2 separate regions of the Homo sapiens genome follow, and region 1 is linked to region 2. The links are contacts of gene promoters, found by promoter capture Hi-C in blood cells and fetal thymus (Javierre and others, 2016). All regions are on one chromosome and are shown on one strand. The core of a region is centred on a gene start or on the middle of the fragment in contact, and the rest is flanking DNA. Distances in the headings are between cores, read along the strand shown. Region 1 holds the start of ZNF689 (zinc finger protein 689). Region 2 holds the start of GDPD3 (glycerophosphodiester phosphodiesterase domain containing 3).

Region 1 (6,378 bases), core at 1,391-3,890, 500 kb after region 2:
CACCTGAGGTCAGGAGTTCGAGACCAGCTTGACCAATATGGAGAAACCCTGTCTCTACTAAAAATTAGCCGGGTGTGATCGTGGGCACCTGTAGTCCCACCTACTCCAGAGGCTGAGACAGGAGAATTGCTTGAAACCGGGAGCAAGAGGTTACAGTGAGCTGAGATCGTGCCACTGCACTCCTGCCTGGGCAACAGAGCAAGACTCCGTCTCACACACACACAAAAGAGTGTAAGGCAAGATATGGAAACCTATGAGGTATGAGCTAGCAGTGACTGGGTCAAAAGGCCCTCTAAGCCAATGGTTCTCAAACTCCACTGTGATCAGAATCATTGGGAGGATTTACTGAAACAGAATGCCAGGCCCTAGTGCCCGCTTTGGATTCAGCAGGTCTGGGGTAGGGTCCAAGAATGTGCATTTCTAACAAGTTTCCAAATAATGCTGCTTCTGGTCTGAGACCACGCTTTGAGAACCACTGCTGTTAGCATTGTTAAAGACCTTGGACTGTATTTTACCCAATGGTTTTCTTTTCTTTTTTTTTTTCCCCCAAGATGGAGTCTCACTGTGGCACCCAGGCTGGAGTACACTGGCATGATCTCGGCTCACTGTAACTTCCACCTCCCAGGATCAAGCAATTCTCCCTGCCTCAGCCTCCTGAGTAGCTGGAATTACAGGCGCCCACCATAGTGCCCGGCTAATTTTTGTATTTTTTTAGTAGAGACGGGGTTTCACGATGTTGGTCAGGCTGGTCTTGAACTCCGGACCTCAAGTGATCTACCCACCTCGGCCTCCCAAAGTGCTGGGATTACAGGCATGAGCCACCAGCCGGCCGGTTTTCAAACCTAGATGCACATCTGAATCAGCTGAGGCTATTTAAAAAATGGAAGTTCCTAAACATTCACACGAGTGAATGAATAGCTCTGGGATGGGGTCCTGGAACCTGCGTTTTTACCAAGTTCCCCAAGTGATTTAGATATAACCAATGGCCATTTAACAACCTTGGCAAAAATTAACTGAAAAGTTTTAAGCAAGGAAATATCATGGTCAGATCTGAATCTTGGACAGCTATCCCTGGTCTTGAAGAATCTGGCTCTGAAATTCCAGCCCAGACAGCTCCATCTTCTACTATGGGTGGATCTGGGACCCTTCTACCTGAATGGGGTTAAGCAGAGCCTTGTTGGATTCTGAGGAGATTGCAGTATGTCCTTCGCTGATAAGGGTCATCCTGCCGTAAGAGCAGAAAGAGGCCCCTGCATCCCAGGCAGCTGTTCCCCATGAGCTCCCTTCAACCAAAACCCAGAAAACTCTGAGAAGTTTAGGATCTCTTTGGTCCAACTCAAAGGTGGCTAGAGGCAGAGATCCTGGAAAGGAGGCAGAGGGTAGCACCTGTTAAAAGCTCACTGATTCTGGCTGGCTGCAATGGCTCACGCCAGTAACCCCTGCATTTTGGGAGGCCAAGGCAGGAGGATCGCTTGAGGCCAGAAGTTCAAGACCGAACTGAGCAAGACAATGTTTCTACAAAAAAAAAAAAAAAAAAAAAAGACGAAGAATAAGCCCACTGATTCATTCACACAGTGGAAAACTGCAGCTTGCAGACTGACATAGGAATCTCTGTGTGGTGGACCGGCCCCACACCACCAGACACAAGAGGCTGGGAAGATGAATATACTAAATACGCGGCACCCACCCCTAGCCCAACCAAAACTCTGGACAGAGCCGTTAGAGGTAGAACGTTATAGGAGGGCTGCAGGCTCTGCGTGGTTATTTAGCACTCACTTCTCTGGACTGTTAGCCCTCTCGGGTACTCCTGCGGATCTAGAGCAGCCGGTTCCCAGTCATCGGTGTTTCGTTCCAACCAGGAGATGAGGGCTGGTTTGGGACCTGCGCACCCTGGGGAAAGAGAACAAATCAGAAGGCCAGCTCCTAGATCACGCCGAGTAGTATCTCCCCGACGGCACCTCCTGCTAAGCCCCTGCCCACCTCCCCTGACAACCTGGTCGCCTGCCAGGACCGTGGCCTCCCTGCCTACACCCTCTCCGGCTCCTGCATCCCTTCGCGCCCCGCGGCAGCGGATGGGGCCGGCCTCACCGAGCGCGCCCAGGTGACCGTAGGTCTCCCGCATCACGTCCCGGTACAGGGCCCTCTGCGCGGGCCGCAGGCAGCCCCACTCCTCCGGGGAGAAGTACACGGCCACGTCCACGAACTTCAGAGCCCTCGGCCTCCTGCCCCTTTTCCGACTGGGTCTGGCCTTTCCTGGTCCCTGCGCAGGGAGCGGAGCCGAAGGTGGCGCCATGGGACCCGAGAAGCCGGCGCCACGGCCTTCCGTGTCCAGGCCTCGGCCCTCGGGCGCTGGCGGCCCCTGGGATCGAGGAGCCCCTGCCGGACCAGGGCTGAGCGTGGCCGGGGAGGCCCGGAGGGAATCGGAATTGGTCGCCCGCGGGGCTAACGGAAACCTTTTGCTGTTATTCAGGAAACTCCTGCCCGAACTTGGGTGAAAGGCACCGGAAGATGCCTTCGGGGAAAATGGCGGCGCTGCTACCGCACCGCCTTTGCCTGGAACACAGGCAGCTTCCAGCTATCGATTTTATTGACCGGAGCGCCATGCCGGCTTCCTAACCTCTTTGCCCTCAAGTGTAATGGCGCTGCGATTGGGCTTCACGCCGTCTTTTTTCCCCTCCCCAATACGCGCGTTCATTGGACGAGAGCCGAAGATCGAGCGTTCTGATTGGGTGCTAGCAAAGGCGGTCCGTTTGAACGAAGCCAAGAGCTGCATAAGGGCAGGAAGCTGGACTGCTAGGATCAGGCGACTACAAGGAGTTGTGAAGCGACTTGCACCGACCTGGGGGCAGCAAGAGGCCCCGGGGCTGCTTTCCGCTGTTCGACTCTGGCAGGCTCAGCCAATCACTGAAGGAGGGAACGATTTGAGCGATGGAGCCACTCTGGCCGAGTTAGAGCTGAGATTATCCTGAGTTCCTTTTACTGGTGTTCTCAGAGCATCCTTGACTTTGGAGAATGGTTATCTTCTTTGTTTGCCCTTTAGGGGAGGGAATTATGGTTAGCATTTCCTGGGGGCAGGCGCCATGCCCAGCATATTACATATTTCATCTTTATTATTTTTTATTTTTATTTTATTTATTTATTTTTGAGACAGAGTCGTGCTCTGTCGCCCAGGCTGGAGTGCAGTGGCGAAATCTCGGCTCACTGCAGCTTCCACCTCCCACGTTCAAGCGATTCTCCTGCCTCAGCCTCCCGAGTAAGTGAGATTACAGGCGCGTGCCACCACTCCTGACTAATATTCATATTTATTAGCAGAGATGGGGTTTCACCATGTTAGCCAGGCTGGTCTCGAACTTCTGACCTCAAGTGATTCACCCACCTCGGCCCCACGAAGTGCTAGGATTACAGGCGTGAGCCACTATGCCCGGCCTTATTTTTATTTTTTTGAGACAGGGTCTCACTCTGTTACCCGGGCGGGATGGAATGCAGTAGTGCAATCTCAGCTCACTGCAGCCTCTAACTCCTGGGCTCAAGCAATCGTCCTGCCTCAGCCTTCAGAGTAACTGGGACTACTGGTGTGCACTACCACGCCTGGCTAATTTTTTATGTTATTTGTTGAGTCAGGGTTTCCCTGTGTTGCCCAGGCTGGTCTCGAACCCTTAGGCTAAGTGATCCTCCTGCCTCGTCCTCCCAAAGGGCTGGGATTACTGGCATAAGCCACAGCACCGGAGCCATTAGTTATTCGCTTTTTTTTTTTGAGACTGGGTCTCATTCCGTTGCCCAGGCTGGAGTGAAGGCATGCACCCACAGTGCTCTGCTAATTTTTTGTATTTTTGGTAGAGACGGTGTTTCGCCATGTTTCCCAGGCTGGTCTCGAACTCCTGAGCTCAAGCAATCCGCCCACCTCGGTCTCCCAAAGTGCTGGGATTACAGGAGTGAGCCACCACACCCAGCCCGTTATTAATTCTTTACTAGCATTTTGTGAACCAATGGTTATCATCCTGGTTCTACTAATGAAGAAACGATCTCAGAGGGATTCCATGAGTTTCCAGGGCCATACTGCTAGTAAGGAGTGGGGAATAAAGATTTAAACCTGGGGCAGACAGAGCCTTTATTCATACCACTGATAGGCATCCTTCCTTCACAGTATCCTAATTTGCTTGCTAAACCAGGAATCCACCTGAGCTCTTGTTTTCTTCTCAAGTTCAATATTCTGCATAATCTCCCTACATTATTTTCACGTGACATTTGTTCAACGTACAAAGCATAGTGCTAGGCAATTGGGAGAGCGTACATAAATAAGTCATAGGCCATGCTTTGAATGGAGCTTACAGTCTAGTAAAGCATATAAATTCACAATGAATCATAACAGAATGATACAAGCATGTATGTGAAAGGCACTGAACTGAAAATTGCTGATGGAACAAGCCAGCACCCACCCCATTAGCCTCCACATTTTTTTTTTTTTTTTTTTTTTGAGACGGAGTCTCGCTCTGTCACCCAGGCTGGAGGGCAGTGGCGCCATCTCGGCTCACTGCAAGCTCCGCCTCCCGGGCTCACGCCATTCTCCTGCCTCAGCCTCCCGGGTAGCTGGGACTACAGGCGCCCGCCACCACGCCCAGCTAATTTTTTGTATTTTTAGTAGAGACGGGGTTTCACCATGTTAGCCAGGATGGTCTTGATCTCCTGACCTCGTGATCCACCCGTCTCAGCCTCCCAAAGTGCTGGGATTACAGGCGTGAGCCACTGTGCCCAGCCCTTTTTTTTTTTTTTTTTAGACGGAGTCTTGCTCTGTTGCCCAGGCTAGAGTGCAGTGGTGCAAACTCGGCTCACTGCAACCTTGGCCTCCCGGGTTCAAGTGATTCTCCTGCCTCAGCCTCCCGAGTAGCTGAGATTACAGGCACCCGCCACTTTGCTCGGCTAATTTTTGTATTTTTAGTAGAGACGGGATTTCACCATCTTGGCCAGGCTGGTCTCGAACTCCTGACCTCATGATCCAACCACCTCTGCCTCCCAAAGTGCTGGGATTACAGGCATGAGCCACCACGCCCGCCCTAGCCCCTACTTCTATGTATGTGTTATACTGCAGAGTTTCACCAGCTCAATGCCACCCCCAAGGGTCCTGCGAGCAGGAGAATACACCATTTGCCATGTCTCTTAGCTAGTGACATGCACATCTATCTCTCTAACCCTTTAATCAATATTGTAAAGCATATACTATGGGCAAAACACTAACCTCAAAGCTTTCAAGGAATAAAGACAAACAATGTGGCAGGAAAAGTCACAAAATTAGAAGGCAATGAGGCCGGGAGCAGTGGCTCACACCTGTAATCCCAGCAGTTTGGGAGGCCGAGGTGGGTGGATCACGTGAGGCCAGGAGTTCAAGACCAGCCTGGCCAACATGGCAAAACCCTGTCTCTACTAAAAATACAAAAATTAGCCGGGCTTGGTGGCACATGCCTATAGTCCCTGCTACTTGGGAGGCTGAGGCATGAGAATTGTTTTCTGTTTTGTTTTGTTTTGTTTTGTTTTGAGACGGAGTTTTGCTCTTGTTCCCCAGGCTGAGTGCAATGGAGCAATCTCGGCTCACCACAACCTCCGCCTCCCGGATTCAAACGATTCTCCTGCCTCAGCCTCCCGAGTAGCTGGGATTACAGGCATGCGCCACTACACCCAGCTAATTTTGTATTTTTAGTAGAGATGGGGTTTCTTCATGTTGGTCAGGCTGGTCTTGAACTCCTGACCTCAGCTGATCTGTCCGCCTCGACCTCCCAAAGTGCTGGGATTACAGACATGAGCCACCAGGCCCAGCCGAAGAGAATTGTTTGAAACTGGAAGGCGGAGGTTGCAGTGATCCAAGATGGTGCCACTGCACTCCAGCCTGGGTGACAGAGTAAGACTAAGTCTCAAAAAAAAAAAAAAAAAAAAAGGCTGGGCTTGGTGGCTCACGCCTGTAATCCCAGCACTTTGGGAGGCCGAGGCGGGCAGATCACTAGGTCAGGAGATCAAGACCATCCTGGCTAACACGGTGAAACCCCGTCTCTACTAAAAATATAAAAAATTAGCCAGGCATGGTGGTGGGCTTCTGTAGTCCCAGCTACTCAGGAGGCTGAGGCAGGAGAATGGCGTGAACCCGGGAGGCGGAGCTTTCGACCGAGCGAGACTCGTCTCAAAAAAAAAAAAAAAAAAGAGGAAGGAGAAGAAAGAAGAAGGAGGAGGAGGATGAGGAGGCAGCAGTGAGATATTCAGAGGAAGGAGATGTTTGAACAGAGGTGGTGGAAAAAAAACTACAGTTACAGGCTAGGTGTGGTGGCTCACACCTATAATCCCAGCACTTTGGGAGGCCGAGGTGGGGGGATTGCTTGAGCCCAGGAGTTCAAG
Region 2 (5,811 bases), core at 2,393-4,892:
TGGGACGACCCCTAATTATCCCACTCCAGGGGTGACTTTAGAGACCCTTGACAGTGTCCTAGGGCAGGCTCTGGAGTCAGACCCAGGGAAAACCTAAGCTCTGGATTTCCAGCTGTGTGTCCTTGGGCAAATTACAGAACCTCTCTGGGCCTCAGATTCTCTAGGGTACCATGGGAGTCATGATTCTTATACCTCCTGGGGGTGCTGCAAGGTAAAAGTCAACCCAAAATATGTTAAAACACTTTATAAATCTTGTATAAGGCCGGGCGCAGTGGGTCACGCCTGTAATCCCAGCACTTTGGGAGGCCGAGGCAGGCGGATCATGAGGTCAGATTACCATCCTGGCTAATACGGTGAAACCCCATCTCTACTAAAAACACAAAAAAATTAGCCGGGTGTGGTGGCGGGCGCCTGTAGTCCCAGCTACTCGGGAGGCTGAAGCAGGAGAATGGCGTGAACCAGGGAGGCAGAGCTTGCAGTGAGCCGAGATCACGCCACTGCACTGCAGCCTGGGCAACAGGGGAAGACTCCTCAAAAAACACAAAAAAAATCCGGTATAAAAAGGTGGTACACAAATATCATTGATCTCTTTGTAGCAAGGTATTGTGGGGGCTGAGTGGGACTTCCTTCTGGACAACAGAGGGGAGCAGAGAGCTCTGGGACTACCACAGAGAAGCTGTCAGAAAGCAAAGGGAGACCGGGCCCAGGGGCTCAGGTATGTAATCCCAGCACTTTGGGAGACCAAGGTGGGAGGCTCGCTTGAGCTGAGGAGTTCAAGAGCAGCCTGGTCAACATAGTGAGACCTTGTCTCTACAAATAATTTAACAATTAGCCAGGTGCAGTGTTGCACGCCTATACTCCCAGCTACTTAGGAGGCTGAGGCAGGAGGATCTCCTGAGCCCAGGAGGTCGAGGCGCAGTGAGTCATGATCTGGCCACTGCATTCCAGCCCGAGCAAGACTGTCTCAAAAAAAAAAAAAAAATTGTAAAGCAAAGGGAGGGACTAGGCTTAAGTGCCAGCGAAGTATCCAAATTCCTGATCCTTTCCCCAGCTGTTACTTTGTTAACCCCTGCCTTCCTGCAGAACACTGACTTGGCCTTTTCCTGCTGAGGGTCTGAGACAGCCGTGCTATAATTAATGAACGAATGTCTCCCCAGCCAGACTGTAAGCTCACCAAGGACCTCTCCCCACCCTCACTGGTCTCATTTACACATTATAACTGCACCTGGGACAGAGTAGACATTCAATAAAATATGCTAGATGGCCTGAGATGGATAAATTACCTCTCTATCCTAAAACTCCACATATGCACAGAATTTCAGGGTGTTCACAGTTCCCTTAGTATTCATGAATGCTGGGTAAGAACCACTGTCCTTAAAAGACCTTGGGGGTTATCTCTGAGGGGAGCTGGGGAGCTGGGAAGATCTGGGCTCCTTCTCCACGGAGACCCTAAGCAGTGGGGAGTTTTTCTGAGGTCCGCCCCCCACTGGTACCTGTTGATGATGTTGGGCAGGAAGCAGAAGAAGAACTTCTCAGGGATTGGGATGAAGGGCAGCAGCCCCAGGTAGTAGGAAAGCAGCACCCAGAATCCTCGGCTTATTGTGAAGGACAGGGGCATCTCGGGGTTCTGGGGAGGCAAGGAGAGGCATGAGAATCTGTCTGCTCTGGGGAAGCAGAGAGGAGGCATGAGCTGCAGGGGAGCCGTGGTGGGCATTCCAGAGGCCCTACTACCTGCAGGATCCAAGTCACATCTTGGGGCTGGGTGTGGTGGCTCACGCCTGTAACCTCAGCAGTTTGGGAGGCTGAGGCAGGTGGATCACCTGAGATCAGGAGTTCAAGACCAGCCTGGCTAACATGGTAAAACCCCATCTCTACTAAAAATACAAAAATTAGCTGGGCGTGGTGGCGTGCACCTGTAATCCCAGCTACTCGGGAGGCTGAAGCATGAGAATCGCTTGAACCCAGGAGGCAGAGGTTGCAGTGAGCCGAGGTCGCACCACCGCACTCCAGCCTGGGCGACAGAGAGAGACTGTGTTTCAAAAAAGAAAAAAAACAAAAGTCACATCTTGGCTCTGTGTTCGAGGCCTGAGTTCACACCCTTTTCATTGCCACCGCCACGCCACTGGGAACTCTCCCAGACCCCTCTAGCTCGGGTCCCCATGCTGGGTGGGCTCCAGCTCTGGGGAGGAGGGGCCCCTGGAGGAGGAAGAGGACGGGGGAGGGGTGGGGGGACTCACGGCAGCCTTGCATTTCTTCATGACCGAGCTCTTCTCCGAGGCCCAGATGGTGATTTCATTACGGTCATAGCGTCTCACCAAGCCTGCTATCTGGGAGGAGGAGAAGGAGGTGAAGGGAGAGCCAGGCCTCTCTCACGCCCCCGGTGGCCGCCCTAGCCCTGCCTGCAGCACCACCTCACGGATGAGCTCTTCGTTCTTCCCTTTGATCTCTACGCTCATGGGTGTCCTTGGAAACCTCTGGAACAGGTCCTCCAGACGAACCATGCGCCGGTCTGACCCGTGAGCAAAGTGGCCTGGGGGTGGTGTGGGAAAAGGGGTCAGAGGGAAGCCAAGGCGGAGGTCCAAGGAAGGCAGGCATGGCCCAGGCAGGGCTCGAAGCCCTTGCTCTCACCTGGAGAGAAGTAAACCTCCAGCTTCTCCTTGTAGAGGGGCAGGTCCTGGGGAGGACAGGAAGGATGTCACTAGAGGCCCGCATTGGGCATGGTGACTCTCAGGGTGGGGGTTGGGGTGTCAGGGCAGGGCCCACCTCGAAGTCCAGGCTGCCCACATCCCTGTTTAGGCCCGACTGGCGGCACAGGTTCTCATCATGTGACACCACCACCACTCTGTCCCGTGTCAGCTGACAGTCGAGCTCCAGGAGGTCCGAGCGCTGGGCCATGGAGCTGTGGGGGTGAAGGTCAGCGGGGGGCAGGGGCAGGGGACTGGGATGAGGGGCATGGTGGCTGGGAGGTGGCCGGGAATGTGAGAGCGGAGTTCGTGGCGGGATGTGCAGGCCACCTCCAGGGGGCGCCAGTCACCCAGCTAGGAAGTGAATGGCGTCCCTTGCTGTGATGCAGTCCACGACCTGCACACCCTCACATGGCAGCCTGGGCAGGGGCAGATACACTCACTTCTCCATGGCCTCCATGGTGTTCTCCAGCAGCTCTCCAGATCCTGTGGGGGGCACTGGAGTGGGCCTCTGGGGCTTGGGGTCTAGGGGCCTGGCCCAACCTCATCACCCACATTCCCTCTCTGGGCTCCATCCTCCCTCTGGCCTCACCTCCCCAGCCAGCCCAGGCTGCGCCAGCATCTTCTTCCTCGTCCACACCCTGCCCTGCCACTTCGCTCTCCTTCTCTCTTGGTCCCTGCCCCGTTTCTAGCATGCCCCCTTGGACCTACCCCTCTGTGCTGTCCACTTTGGCACCTGTTCTCACCCCTACCCGGCTCACCTCCTCGGTGGGCCCCCAGGCGGATGCGGAAGGTGGGAGCCCTGGGCGTGTGCAGCAGATGAGGCCGGCGCAGGAAGAAGATGGAGAGCATGGCATAGCTGCCCAGGGCAGGGAGGGCATAGTACAGCAAAAGGCTCATGACCGTACTCCCACAGAAGCTCCTGCAGCCACACGCTCAGCCGTCCGCGGGACTGTGCTGCCTGCCTAGCCAGTGTGGGCCGGCTCTACTACTGGCCACTGCCACGCCCCTGGGACCTGCTGAGCCTGCCGCTGGGCTGGCTTGGAGCCAGGCTGCAGGGTTCGGCTGAAGCTGGGGTAGTGTCAGGAGGTGAGGCAAGTAGCCCTGGCTCTCATATCCCCAGGCCCTTCCCAGCCCCCAGCAGCCCCGTCCTGGGCTACATGAGGGGAGTAAAAACCACCCAGGACTGTCAGGACCTCTCCCTCTCACTGGTACTTGTAGCCAGCGCATCCAACATGCCTACCCCTTGCCATTTCAGAGGATCCAGGGGTGTGTAGGGTGCTCCTGAGTCACCCCGAATCACCCCCAGCCAGTTAGACAGGAAGCCATTAGCGAGAGGACAGGACAGTGACTAAGGGGAAAACTGACCCCCTTCTTTCTAGGAGTCTGGAGCTCTCCAGAGCCCCGTCCCCAGCCCTGGGCAGCTGGGAGTGAAGGGCACCAGGCCCCTGAAAGCCCAAGTCAAGTCTGTCCTCAGAGCCGCACGGGGCAGGGCGGGGGCGTCGCGAACACAGACAGAGCCAGGGTCAGCCATAGACACATCTCTATATTTATATATTAGACGGGTCAGGGAGGTGGCAGGGGCGCCGGGCTCTCCACGCCCCCCAGCTCCACTTCTGCTCACCACACACAGAAGCAGCGAGGGCACGCGAAGTGACAGCTTTGACAGGGAGGGGATTCGGCCCGGCCTGGCTCCTCAGGGATGCTAGCCCTTGAGACTAAGGAATGTTCCTTCAGGGAAACTAGGGTGGGGTTTGAATGAGATGAGGGGGGCAGGCATGGCCCTGAGTCCCTACTCAGCGCCCCCCACCCTCCACCTCTGCCCTTCAGCAGGTTGGGGCAGCCAGAACCCTTCCATTCCAGAACTGCCAGAGACTGGGACGCTGGGGAAGGTAAGGGCGCAGCAGCAGCAGCGGGAGATTGAACTGGGGCCACCTGAGGTCCCGAGGCCCCGTGGGGAGGGCGGGTGGGGAGGAGAAGGCCTTGGCCTGCCTGAAGCTGGAGGCCTCAGCAAAGGAGAGAGGTGGCCAGGCCCATGCTCCACCCCGGCCTGGGCTGCCAAGGTCCGGGCTGGGCACAGTGTCCATTTTCTAACAGTCTGGCGGGAGAGGGGCAGGCAGGAGGCAGGTCCTAAAGAGAGAAGCAGGCAGAAGAGGAGTCGTTAGCACCCCCCGGGCAGACCCACTGGAGCCCTGACCTCAACATCTCTCATTTCACCCTCACAGCTGGATAGGCTGGGTCTCAGTTTCCTTATCTGTAAATGGAGATAATAATAGTACCTAGCTTGAGGTACTGCTGTAAGATTAAAGGAATTAATACATGTAAACCTCTTAGAACAATGCTTAGGGCTTTATGCTTTCATTATTAGAACTGTCTCGGCCGGGCACAGTGGCTCACGCCTATAATCCCAGCACTTTGAGAAGCTGAGGTGGTGGATCGCTTGAGCCCAGGAGTTTGAGACTGGCCTGGGCAACATAGCAAGACCCCAGCTCCACAAAAAAAAAAAAAAAAAATTAGCCGGTTGCAATGGCTCGTCCAGCTAGCTGGGAGGATCCCTTGCACCCAGGAGTTTTGAGGCTGCAGTGAGCTATGATTGCACCACTGCATTCCAGCCTGGGTGACAGAGCGAGACACTGTCTCAAAAAAACAAAACCAAAAAAAAAGATAAATAGATTGACTCCGGAAACTGAGGCGCCGAGAGGTGAGGTGCCTTGCCCAATATCACACAGCACTTACTAAGTGGCACAGCTGGAGTTTGAGCCCAGGTGCGCATGCCTTCTTTCTATCAGGCCACACCTGGCTGAAGACAGGAAGAGACCGGAGGAGGCAAGGAGGCAGCGTGGGTGGGGGCAGGCCAGTGGGGTCCCCACAGCTATGTGAACTGCTGATCTGGCAGCAGGTGTGAGGAGGCCTGGCAATCTGGGTCAGGCTGGGCGCTGCTGGGCCCCTCCCAAAGCAATCATGGCCCCACCTGCTTCTGCCACACCCAGAGCTGAAGCTTGGCTCAGGTCCTCACCTGGGTGACAGAGGCCCTCAGTGACCTCTTGCCTCTTTGCCAGTTCTGTTCCTAGAAGGAGATTAGAATGGCTTGTGGGGCTGGAGGATGCAAGGTGTTGACAGGCAGAGA

The links. Contacts are between HindIII fragments. The CHiCAGO score rates a contact against its expected background, and 5 or more counts as called.
Region 1: the fragment with the promoter of ZNF689 here is called in contact with the fragment with the promoter of GDPD3 in region 2 in 4 of 17 cell types (fetal thymus, total CD4 T cells, erythroblasts and 1 more); the score reaches 10.5 in fetal thymus.

Annotation. Positions count from the first base shown.
Region 1 is chr16:30,607,749-30,614,126 of GRCh38, forward strand. ZNF689 (zinc finger protein 689) reads right to left here and starts at 2,641. Exons shown (of 3, transcript NM_138447.3): 1 at 2,089-2,641; 2 at 1,777-1,890. The coding sequence starts at 2,293. LOC124903678 (a long non-coding RNA gene) reads left to right here and starts at 2,726. Exons shown (of 2, transcript XR_007065051.1): 1 at 2,726-3,015. RefSeq lists a silencer at 2,331-2,380 and an enhancer at 2,668-3,637. The HindIII fragment of the contact is 6,999 bases long and covers 1-5,238 here.
Region 2 is chr16:30,109,895-30,115,705 of GRCh38, forward strand. It overlaps GDPD3 (glycerophosphodiester phosphodiesterase domain containing 3), which reads right to left and starts at 3,643. Exons shown (of 10, transcript NM_024307.3): 1 at 3,446-3,643; 2 at 3,128-3,170; 3 at 2,764-2,899; 4 at 2,629-2,674; 5 at 2,412-2,530; 6 at 2,238-2,327; 7 at 1,494-1,627. The coding sequence starts at 3,584. It overlaps MAPK3 (mitogen-activated protein kinase 3), which reads right to left. Exons shown (of 9, transcript NM_002746.3): 9 at 4,211-4,814. RefSeq lists a silencer at 3,614-3,908. The HindIII fragment of the contact is 12,096 bases long and covers 1-5,680 here.